Linked DNA regions of Homo sapiens: all the other regions are linked to region 1. Evidence: promoter capture Hi-C in human tissues and cell types (Jung and others, 2019). All regions are on one chromosome and are shown on one strand. Each heading gives the region's core, a stretch centred on a gene start or on the middle of the fragment in contact. The rest is flanking DNA. Distances are from core to core; before and after follow the strand shown.

Evidence for each region. Contacts are between HindIII fragments. The study calls those that stand out against the background at their distance.
Region 2: a fragment that was not itself captured here is called in contact with the fragment with the promoter of TEX36 in region 1 in 1 of the 25 tissues and cell types used here (adrenal gland).
Region 3: a fragment that was not itself captured here is called in contact with the fragment with the promoter of TEX36 in region 1 in 1 of the 25 tissues and cell types used here (dorsolateral prefrontal cortex).

Annotation. Positions count from the first base shown.
Region 1 is chr10:125,681,450-125,684,579 of GRCh38, reverse strand. TEX36 (testis expressed 36) reads left to right here and starts at 1,417. Exons shown (of 4, transcript NM_001128202.3): 1 at 1,417-1,641. The coding sequence starts at 1,591. LOC283038 (a long non-coding RNA gene) reads right to left here and starts at 1,337. Exons shown (of 5, transcript NR_033848.1): 1 at 1,249-1,337. The HindIII fragment of the contact is 13,590 bases long and covers 1-3,130 here.
Region 2 is chr10:125,330,466-125,333,595 of GRCh38, reverse strand. No RefSeq gene overlaps it. Among named protein-coding and RNA genes, the nearest start is that of CTBP2, 170 kb to the right of the region's middle. The HindIII fragment of the contact is 3,036 bases long and covers 145-3,130 here.
Region 3 is chr10:125,353,308-125,356,437 of GRCh38, reverse strand. No RefSeq gene overlaps it. Among named protein-coding and RNA genes, the nearest start is that of CTBP2, 190 kb to the right of the region's middle. The HindIII fragment of the contact is 7,970 bases long and covers 1-3,130 here.

The DNA of each region.
Region 1 (3,130 bases), core at 168-2,667:
GGACTTCACTACGCAGAGAGAATAAATGTCTATCATGTTTAAGCCCCTGTTAGTTCGGGTTTCCTGTCCCAGTCAAATTTGTTCGTAATCAATATAGTGCGTCTTGGCAAGGCTGTGAGACGACAGAACTCCCTTGCACTGCTGCTGCTGGGAGTATTTCTTTACACCTGGGCTTTGGAGAGCAGTGGGCAATGCCTGGTAAAGGTGAAAAATAGTGTCTGTTGCACTGGGTTTGTCAGCAGGTAGCAGAAATCCTGGAAGGGTTTACTCCACACACAACAGTATTGCCTGGTACAGCAGCTCTGCAACACCAAAAGAGGTGGCCCACCACCTTTTCCTCCTCTCCTTACCATGTGGCTTTTGGCATCATAGTGCAAGAGGACCTGTGCATCTCCGGTGTCACATCTAAGGGCCACCTCTGGCCCTTCAGTGCTGGCAGTGGATAAGGTCCTCTATCACTACTACAGCAACTCTCCTTGGAAAACCTAGGAGGGTGACTGGAGGAGGAAAGGGTGGAGGACACAATTTCTGAGTGAGAGAGCAGCTGGACAGGTTGTCCTGCATGTGTTTACTCTCGTATTCACACGGAGTAGCCAAGAGAATTGGCAAGACACAACATTAAAAAAAAAAAGAAAGAAAGAAAAGCAGAAAACACCTTACTGAGTAGAAGGGAGGCAGGACGTGTGTGTCCAGGCCCCGAGAGAAACGCCAGATTTCACGAGCAGCCTTTGCAGCCCTGGGGATGCCAGGTGGCCCTTGGCAAGGCTCATGAGCTCTGGAGCTGGCCCATGACCTTGCTGGGACTTGTGGCATCCCATCCATTGCTGTATGTCCCTTGTTTCCTATTTGTAAATGTTGAAGGTTGTCGTGGAGAAAAAATAAAAACAGGTGAATGTTTAGTTTAGCACAGCACTTGGCATATAATAATTATTCATGAGTGTTACTTCCTCATGGTCTCAATGCTGTGCCAGGCAGGTAAGAGTGGCTGTGAGTGAGTCCTGAGGTTGGGTCCGAGCTGAGACACAGAGGCTGCCACAGAAGGAGATGGTAGGCAGCGTGGGTCCTGGGTGCAGCAGTGCCACTGATGCAGACAAGGTCACCCCCAGCCTGGGACTCAACTTACTTCTCTGAAAACTAACAGGTTGGAACATACAGTTGCCAGGGGGACATGCAACTCAAACATTATTGGTTCAAAAATTGAGAGGGTACAAAATGTTTGCCATTACCCCCAAATCATCTTGTCCTTACCTGTCTGAGCTGACCACAGGGCTTCCTCAGCTGGGACCTGGTGGCTCTTTGCCTCTTACCCTGGGGAGTCACAGCTGCAAGGAACCAGTGGCAAGAATCCTCCGAGGGTTTAGAAGACTCCTTTGCCCATTGTGATGGGTGAGTTCCCATTCCATGACAACAATGGGCACCCGCACCTTCCCCTCCTGGAAGAGGCTGAGAAGTAAAGATCAGGAACAAGGAGGAGGAGGAGCTTCCCAGACGTGTAGAGCTTATGAAGTTTAGGAAGCAGCTTCCCAGACATGTAGAGCTTATGGAGAGGTGAGGGAGCCAATCTCAGCCACATTCAGCTTCCTGGAGAGAATGACCAAAGGGCGACGCTTCAACCCACCTTCAGACAAGGATGGGAGATGGGTAAGGAAGATGGTGGCCCCTGGTGCCTTTCTCATGCCACGTGGGTGTGGTCAACAGTCTGAGGAGTTCCAATCCTGCTTCTACTATTACTGAAGCATGACCTTTGACAAATCACTTCACTTTACTCAACCTCAGTTTCTTCATCTGTGACATGGGAATCCTCTAACACTCTTGCAAAGATTGAATGAAATAATGCATGTAAAATGCTCAGCACACTGGAACCTCGTGAATGTCCACTAAGCAGTCATTCCTGCTCTACTTTTTCTTTCTTCCTTAACATCTATTTTCTAACATACTACAGAACTTATTCTCTTATCTATGTTATTTTTCTCCCCTTGCTAGAATATAAGCTCCATGGAGCTGGGATTTTTGTCTATTTTATTCACTGATGTATCCCCAGTGCCTAGAACAGGATCTGGAGCATAGAAGGCACTCAATACATATGTGTTGAAGTAATTATATTATACTAGAAACCTCTAAACAAATTCTTGTTGGCTCCCAATCCAATTCCTTTAGCCCCTCCGGCCTATGAAATGAGAAGAGTCCAGGAATGCATCATTTACTCATCTTCATCACTTGAAAACTTTCCCTTTCCAGCTTCACGCTCTCCCCCAACTCTTGCTCTTCTGATGTCACTTACAGAGCCTGTGGGATTTTTCACTCTTCTACCATCTTCAGGAAACATTTGGGTCACTCCTAAGTGTGAGGTCTTAGCCTTGTCGGCCAAGCACTTCTCTCCTTTGCTCTTCAACATGTATATTTCATGGCCGACAAGCCTCAAGCCTTTCCCATTTCTGATTTCTACAATTCATTCACAAAAAGAATGTTAAGGGGAAATCACAGCAGTAGACTCGCAATGAGAAACATAATCAGAGAAAAACCTGACGTCGACTTCTTTTAGGGTAGCAACAGGTAAAAAATTGTTAAAATTTTAATTTGTTTCAAAGAAAAACAGAAAACACTTCAGCAAATTTGGGTCTGAAGGCTTTAAAAAACTGATCTACCCACTTGGATACAACCTTGGCTAAGCAGCTTAGTCTTTCTAAGTCTCAGTTTCTTTGTCTGTAAAATGGGAGCATAATGTACCAAGGGTAGAAGACCATGGTGGGGGATTCACGACTCATTAACAAGTGCTCAGTACAATGAGTGAGCACATAGAAACCACTTAACATATATACACTTTGTATGTATGTGTACATATACGTGTATACACACAAATGTATACCTTGTTTCATTCCACAAAAATTTAAAGCATGGAAAATGTACACAATAAAATAATACAGTATAAATCAAATAGAAAGTTATAACTAGTTTTATAAATACTTTAGAAAGAGAAGAGGCTGAGTCTGAGAACACATATAACATAGACATAATATTAGGTATATTTCCAGGATTATATGGTAGATATTTGGGCACCACATTTGACTCTGAGTTCCCTGGCAGCCAAAGTAAAATGAGAGATAATGTCAACTCCATAAAGCTAAGTTCC
Region 2 (3,130 bases), core at 413-2,912, 350 kb after region 1:
CAGAAAACCATAGGCATTCATCAGACTAAAACTGCATGTACTCAGAGACATATTCTTTGCACCTACGAAATGTCATATTTCTATCCATTGACCTCGTGGATACCCACAGTAAGTCATTTGCATCTGAGATCATCCAGCCAGAAAGAGTAACTGAGTCCTGATTCACAGGACAACGTTTTGCTGACATTCACTTTATTCACTTTCCCCAGTGATTCTTCCTTTGAGTCAGTGAGTTATCCTCAAGGGTTTCAGTAACTCCCTGATCAACTTTTGTGCCCGGGGACTCACATCTACATTACCACATAAATTGTGGTTCTGAAAACCTGCCATGAATACAGATGTCTTTGTCTGTTCAGCTTATTACTGGAAGCTTCTTCATATTGCCAAATGCAACAGTAGTAATAATATTAATATTTCACTTGGAGGAGCCAAATCTGGGAACATAAAAGACTCGTTCCACCCACCACATATTTTCAGAACATAGGAGCTAGCCTAGAGGGACATTTGAGTCATTTTTGGTGACTTTACTGTAACCTCCACCGGTCTTGATTGCATTCTATTTTTGATAATAAGGTTCACGCAAAGGTATTTCTGGCAGTGTGGGGGTTGTCTAGTTGGTTGTCTGTTGTAGTAAGTGCTGACAAACAGTTGGAATGAAAACTTAAATACTTATATAATCTGCAGAAAAATGGACTCACATCTGTGGGTAAAATAAGCAGATAAAATGGTGCTCAAATTAGATTTGATTTTCCCCCCTAGAATTGGCAATGTGTAAATGAGGCTGGCAAGTGACGGCAGGCATCAGATGACACTGAATAAGAATGGCAAAACTGCAATGCCAGCTTGGTTCCAGGCAGCTACGGTCAGGTGATTTGCCCATCCATAAAGAAGCACATGGAAAAGATTGCAAGAGTTGGGATGCTGAGATGGCAGAACTGTGATTTGAGGAATGCCAGCAAATCAGTGTTCAATCAGCATAGATGTTTGTCTGAAGTCCAATAGAACTGCAAGTCCAACTTTTAATTCACTTACGCCAATTACCCCCACCATCCCCCATAGGCACAAGATTGCTTTACTCAAACGTATCTCTCATAGAAGAAAATGATCGGTCTTATTTGTTCCATTTCACCAGTTACTGAGGAAATGGATAAGACATTTCTGGTGCCATTTTGAAAAAATGAATCCAATGTAGGTCACATTGGAATGAAAACAAAGATGCCCTTCTGAAGCTACCATTGTGGGGGTAATAATGTGTAATAATATTACAGTAGTAATATTATTAATATTTCACTTGGAGCTCCTGTTGGGGGGAATAAAAGCATAACGCAAAAGCAGGGAATAAATATCTGCAATTATGCATTAGCTAATGCATGTAGCTGTCCTTGCCCAGGCTTGGAGTTATGGGTTTGCATTTTCTTTTCTAAAACAGTTTTTTAACACTGACATCTTGGCCTTGAAGACAAATGTTTCTTCACTTGCTTAGAATAAGAAATGGGTTGTGCTGGCTTAGAAACACAGAATGCAGTGAGGTTTTCTGGCTTTTTGTTTTTTTAAGAAAAAAAATTCAGAATATATAACCTACCAATAGGATCTGAAGGGAGAGGGTCTGGTCTAAACCTTCTTGCCAGGCCATCTCAATGGCCTTCTTATGTACACGTGGAAAAATAAGAGAATTGAAAAGAAGTCTGTTTAGGTTTCCAACTGTTCAGAAAACAAAGCATGGTTTCCTCTTCAGTTTTCTATTTTGTAAATATTTCGGTACAATAACGTAGCCCCACATTTTAATTTGACTGACTCACCATGGGAGGGCAAATCGAATAGCTAAAAGGAAGTCTTTAGGTATGATGGCACTGGAAAATATTCAGAACTCAAGATGGGGGTGGGTAGCATCTGGGGAAGAGGAGCTGTGGGGTGAACAGGAAGTTTGCTGACTGCGGACTTGAGCATCATGCCTCATAGGCCTTGAATAAGCAGAGGCAGGGGTCCCTGGTGCTCAAGCTTCTCACTGAAAAAGAAATGGGATTGTTTGCCTGCAGTGGTTACTGAGGGAAGACCCACCCTGACCGAGTAGGTGCTGCTGAAGGCATCCATCAGGTGCTCTGCCCACCTGCCCAAGCAATTTTGAAGGGAGACCAATAGAAAACCAAGAGCTGAATGCCTGAGAAACATCTCCCCCGCTAAAGCCATTTCTGGGGCAGCCCCTCCACACTGCTGATACCTGTGTCCAGATGGCCACTTTGACCTTGGCTGCAGTCGCTCAGGTCCTCTTCTGTCCATGCCTGGCCTGGCCTTGGCTGGAACACTATGGAGGGGCAGGAGGGGGTGGCCATCTGGTGTGGGAGGCGTTGGCTGTAGGTCCTCTCGGGAGACAGGTGGTTCAGCGGCAGGAAGGACTTACCAGGCTGAAACTAATCAGAAGATGGGCTGGCTGCTGGTGTGTGCTGGAAGCTCACAGAAATGTTACAGAGCAAGGCAGACGGTGGAGGGTGGAGAGGCCGGCAATGAGGAACTGGGTCACCCTCATCATTCCTCCCTTGGGGTGGCCCTGAGTGAAGTCCCTGGGCCACAGGTCTAACCAGCAAAGGAAAAGCCAGCACCCCAAGGTAAGAAGAGAGGCCCAGGGGCCATGAGGAGGGGAAGGCCCTAAGACTGGAGGCCTTTACCCCTGGACCACTGCCCCAAGCTTGTGTGTCCCAAGCCTTTGATGGCCACCCCAGTGGCTCCTTCTGGAAGGTGGCTGTGGCTTGGTCTGATCCAAAGGGACTCCTGGAGCTCTGGATGCCATGAAGAGGGAGCAGTGGCATGAAGGTCTCCATCCCTGGTCCATTGGATCTGCCTCCACCAGCCTGGTGTCATCCAGAGCTAGAGGCATCACCAAAGAACTCTAGGAGGCCACCCTCTGGCATGGAAAACACATGGACCAGAGCAGCCCCAGCCATGGCATTCACTCACTCTTGACCTTGGTGAAGCCATTGAGCTCTGCAGGCCACATTTGTTCACCTAGCAAGTAAAGAAAATGAACCTGGTAGATAGACTGTCTCTAGATTCCTCTCAGGGAATGGTGACTTGAAGCCAGAAGATTGTGAGTTTGAGTCCTAGCTCTCCAACTTCCATGTTATATGATCTTGGG
Region 3 (3,130 bases), core at 414-2,913, 330 kb after region 1:
AGGGAAAAACTTAAGAACCGGCATGGCATCACTGCAAGGAAGAAAAGGGGGCCACCATCATTTGTCCATTTTATAGCTCAGGATACACAAAAGAGACAGAAAGATTTGCCCATGGTCATAAAGCAGAACAGCGGGGCAGAGGGCCAGATGCCAGGCCTCATATTTCCAGCCCTGCCACACTTACCTGGCAGGTGCCACCACCAAGGGTGGGCAGGGCCTTCAGAGGGGAGGCCAGGCCCTGGGGGCCGAGGGGCAGGCAGGTGGCAACCTGGAACAGAGTTCTTTAATCTCTCTCTCTCTCTCCTCTCTCTCTCTCTCTCTCTCCCCCACCACGCCCCACCTCTCTGCTCCAGACAGGGAATGAGAACAGCAAACCTCAGGAGAGTGAGAAATAAAGAACAAATGGCAGCGAGGTGCTTTATGGATGACGGCAGGATGCTAAATAACAGTAATGCAGCCGGGAAGGTGCAGCATAAACGATGATGGAAGGAATTCTGTCACCATGACTCAAGTTTTACAAGGCCAGCTGGGAGCCCAAGGCCGTCTGCCTTCCCTGTCCGGGTGATGGAACACCCCTCAGCTCAGCACCCCGGGCCCTGCCTCAGTCTGCAGCTCTGGGGCTGGGCGAGGACGCCTCTCGGAACCACATTAGCGTCACTAACAGCAGCTCACAGCGCATTTACACGGGGCCGGGACGTCTTCCCTGTGAAGGTGGCTTTCTGATTGATCTCACTTCTATCCTGTTCTAATGGAGACGGTCACGGGGGAAATAGATGGCCACAGTCCTGTGACAATCGGCCCCCACTTCTCACCTTCTCTGCCTCTCCCAAGGCTAACAAAGATCACCTGGTTTATGCATCACAGGGAATGCAAGCTGGGGCTGGAGCAGCTTTTTATCTTATTAATTTTTTTGCCTTTGCTTCACTGCCTGCCCTCTTAATTCTTCACTGCCCCCCTGGTTTTACATAGATCCTGGTTCTCCCTGCACGTCTCTACCCTCAGCCAACTAATTTATTGAATGGCTCTTACCTAAGGCCAAATGAAGTTCTCCTTTATTGACACAATTTCTCAAAGTCTGTAACGTGTAGACAACGACTTCACCTCACGTTCTCTTTAATTAATGGAGAGCCACTCACCACCCTGGGTCCACCAGCCACACACCTGTGCACCTCACATGTTAATTTCTTTTTCACCCTGCTGGCTGTATGCTTCGAGGTCTGGCCAAATGATAGAGACACAGAGAATTGCTTCCTTTCCTTTTTTTTTTTTTTTTTTTTTTTTTTTTGAGACAGGTTCTCACTCTGTCGCCCAGGCTAGAGTGCAGTGGCATAATCTTGGCTTGCTGCAACCTCAACCTCCTGGTCTCAAGCAATCCTCCCACCTCAGCCTCCCGAGTAGCTGAGACCACAGGCACACACCACCATGTCCAGCTAATTTTATTTATGTATTTATTTATTTTTGAGATGGAGTCTCGCTCTGTCGCCCAGGCTGGAGTGCAGTGGCGCGATCTCGGCTCACTGCAAGCTCCGCCTCCCGGGTTCACACCGTTCTCCTGCCTCAGCCTCCCGAGTAGCCGGGACTACAGGCGTCCACCACTACACCCGGCTAATTTTTTGTTGTTGTTGTATTTTTAGTAGAGACGGGGTTTCACTGTGTTAGCCAGGATGGTCTCAATCTCCTGACCTCGTGATCCACCCGCCTCAGCCTCCCAAAGTGCTGGGATTACAGGCGTGAGCCACCGCGCCCGGCCTCGTCTAGCTAATTAAAAAAAAAAAAAATGTATAGAGAAGGGGTCTCACTGTGTTGCCCAGGCTGGTCTTGAACTCCTGGGCTCGAGTGATCCTCCGGCTTCGGCCTCCCAAAAGTGCTGAAATTATAGAGGTGAGCTGCTACTTTTATTCAGTTCTTCACTCAGAAACTGCATGTTGAATGAATAAACACCACACAGCTCCTGCCCCCACGAGAGGGTCAATGGGATTTGGACACGGGCTGGGCCATGGATTACGAATCATCCTCTGTTGAGTCACACAACATAAAATAAGGGATCACGTTAATTGTCCAGAATCATTTTTACCTAAAAGATACTTTTATTTGAAATATCCAGGTAGTTGGGTAAAATTGGAGTTTGCTAAATTGTTTTTGGCCAAACCCTCAGCTAGCTCCCTCTGATTTGTCAGCTCTTGTCTCTGCCTGTGAAGCTATAAAAGGGGAACCCAGAACTGCTTCCTGTTGGTTGTGCCCACTTGCCAAGTTCTAGCCTTACAAAACCCTGTCCTCTAAGATGAGACTCTAAATATGTTAGGCAACCTATTTCAATCCTTTTATTTCACTAAAAGTCACTGAAAGAAAGCACAAATCCTGGATTAGTACATAACTTCTGTTTGCTCTTTTACTAACGAAAAGACCGAAAACTCCCAAAACAGAAATTCTCTCTGCTCTACCTTGCCAAATCACTAGCTTAAGAAGAAGGCAGGGCATTCTAATTAGAACTAGACCCAGCACAAGCTAAGATGTGTTTTAAATTATTTGAATAGCTAATATATTCACAAAGATCAACATTTTTTAGCATGAAAAGGTAACCAGGAAAAAGTCTTCTTCCCAGCCATCCCTTCCTCTCTCAATTTCCACCCACCTCCATTTCCACGCACAGGTAACTCTGTTTTGATATTCTTAATGTATTCTTCTGGGCTTCTTTATGTAGATCAAGCAACTATTCATATAGATTCTTTGGTTACCCCCACACATACCTTCACATGTTACATGCACTCTTCTCCTTTGCTTTGTTCTGCATTATTGTGTATCTTACAGATCTTTTCTTATTTAGAGGTCTTCCTCCTTTACACATGGAATTCCATTGTCCTTAATAGAGAGCTTCTTTCTTTTAACATGGTATCCCATTGTATGGATGCCTCATCTGCTGAACTACCCATCTCTCAATGGTCTTGGATTGTCTCTACTCTTGTGATTACCATGCTGAAGTGAATAACCTGGTATATACAGCATTTTGCATGTGGACTAGTAGATCTGTAAGACAAATCTCAGAACTGGAATTCAAGGCCAAAGGGATATACTTTTCTAATTTTGATAGGTGTTGTCAAATAGCCTCCAGAAGGGTTGCTCCAATGTGCAC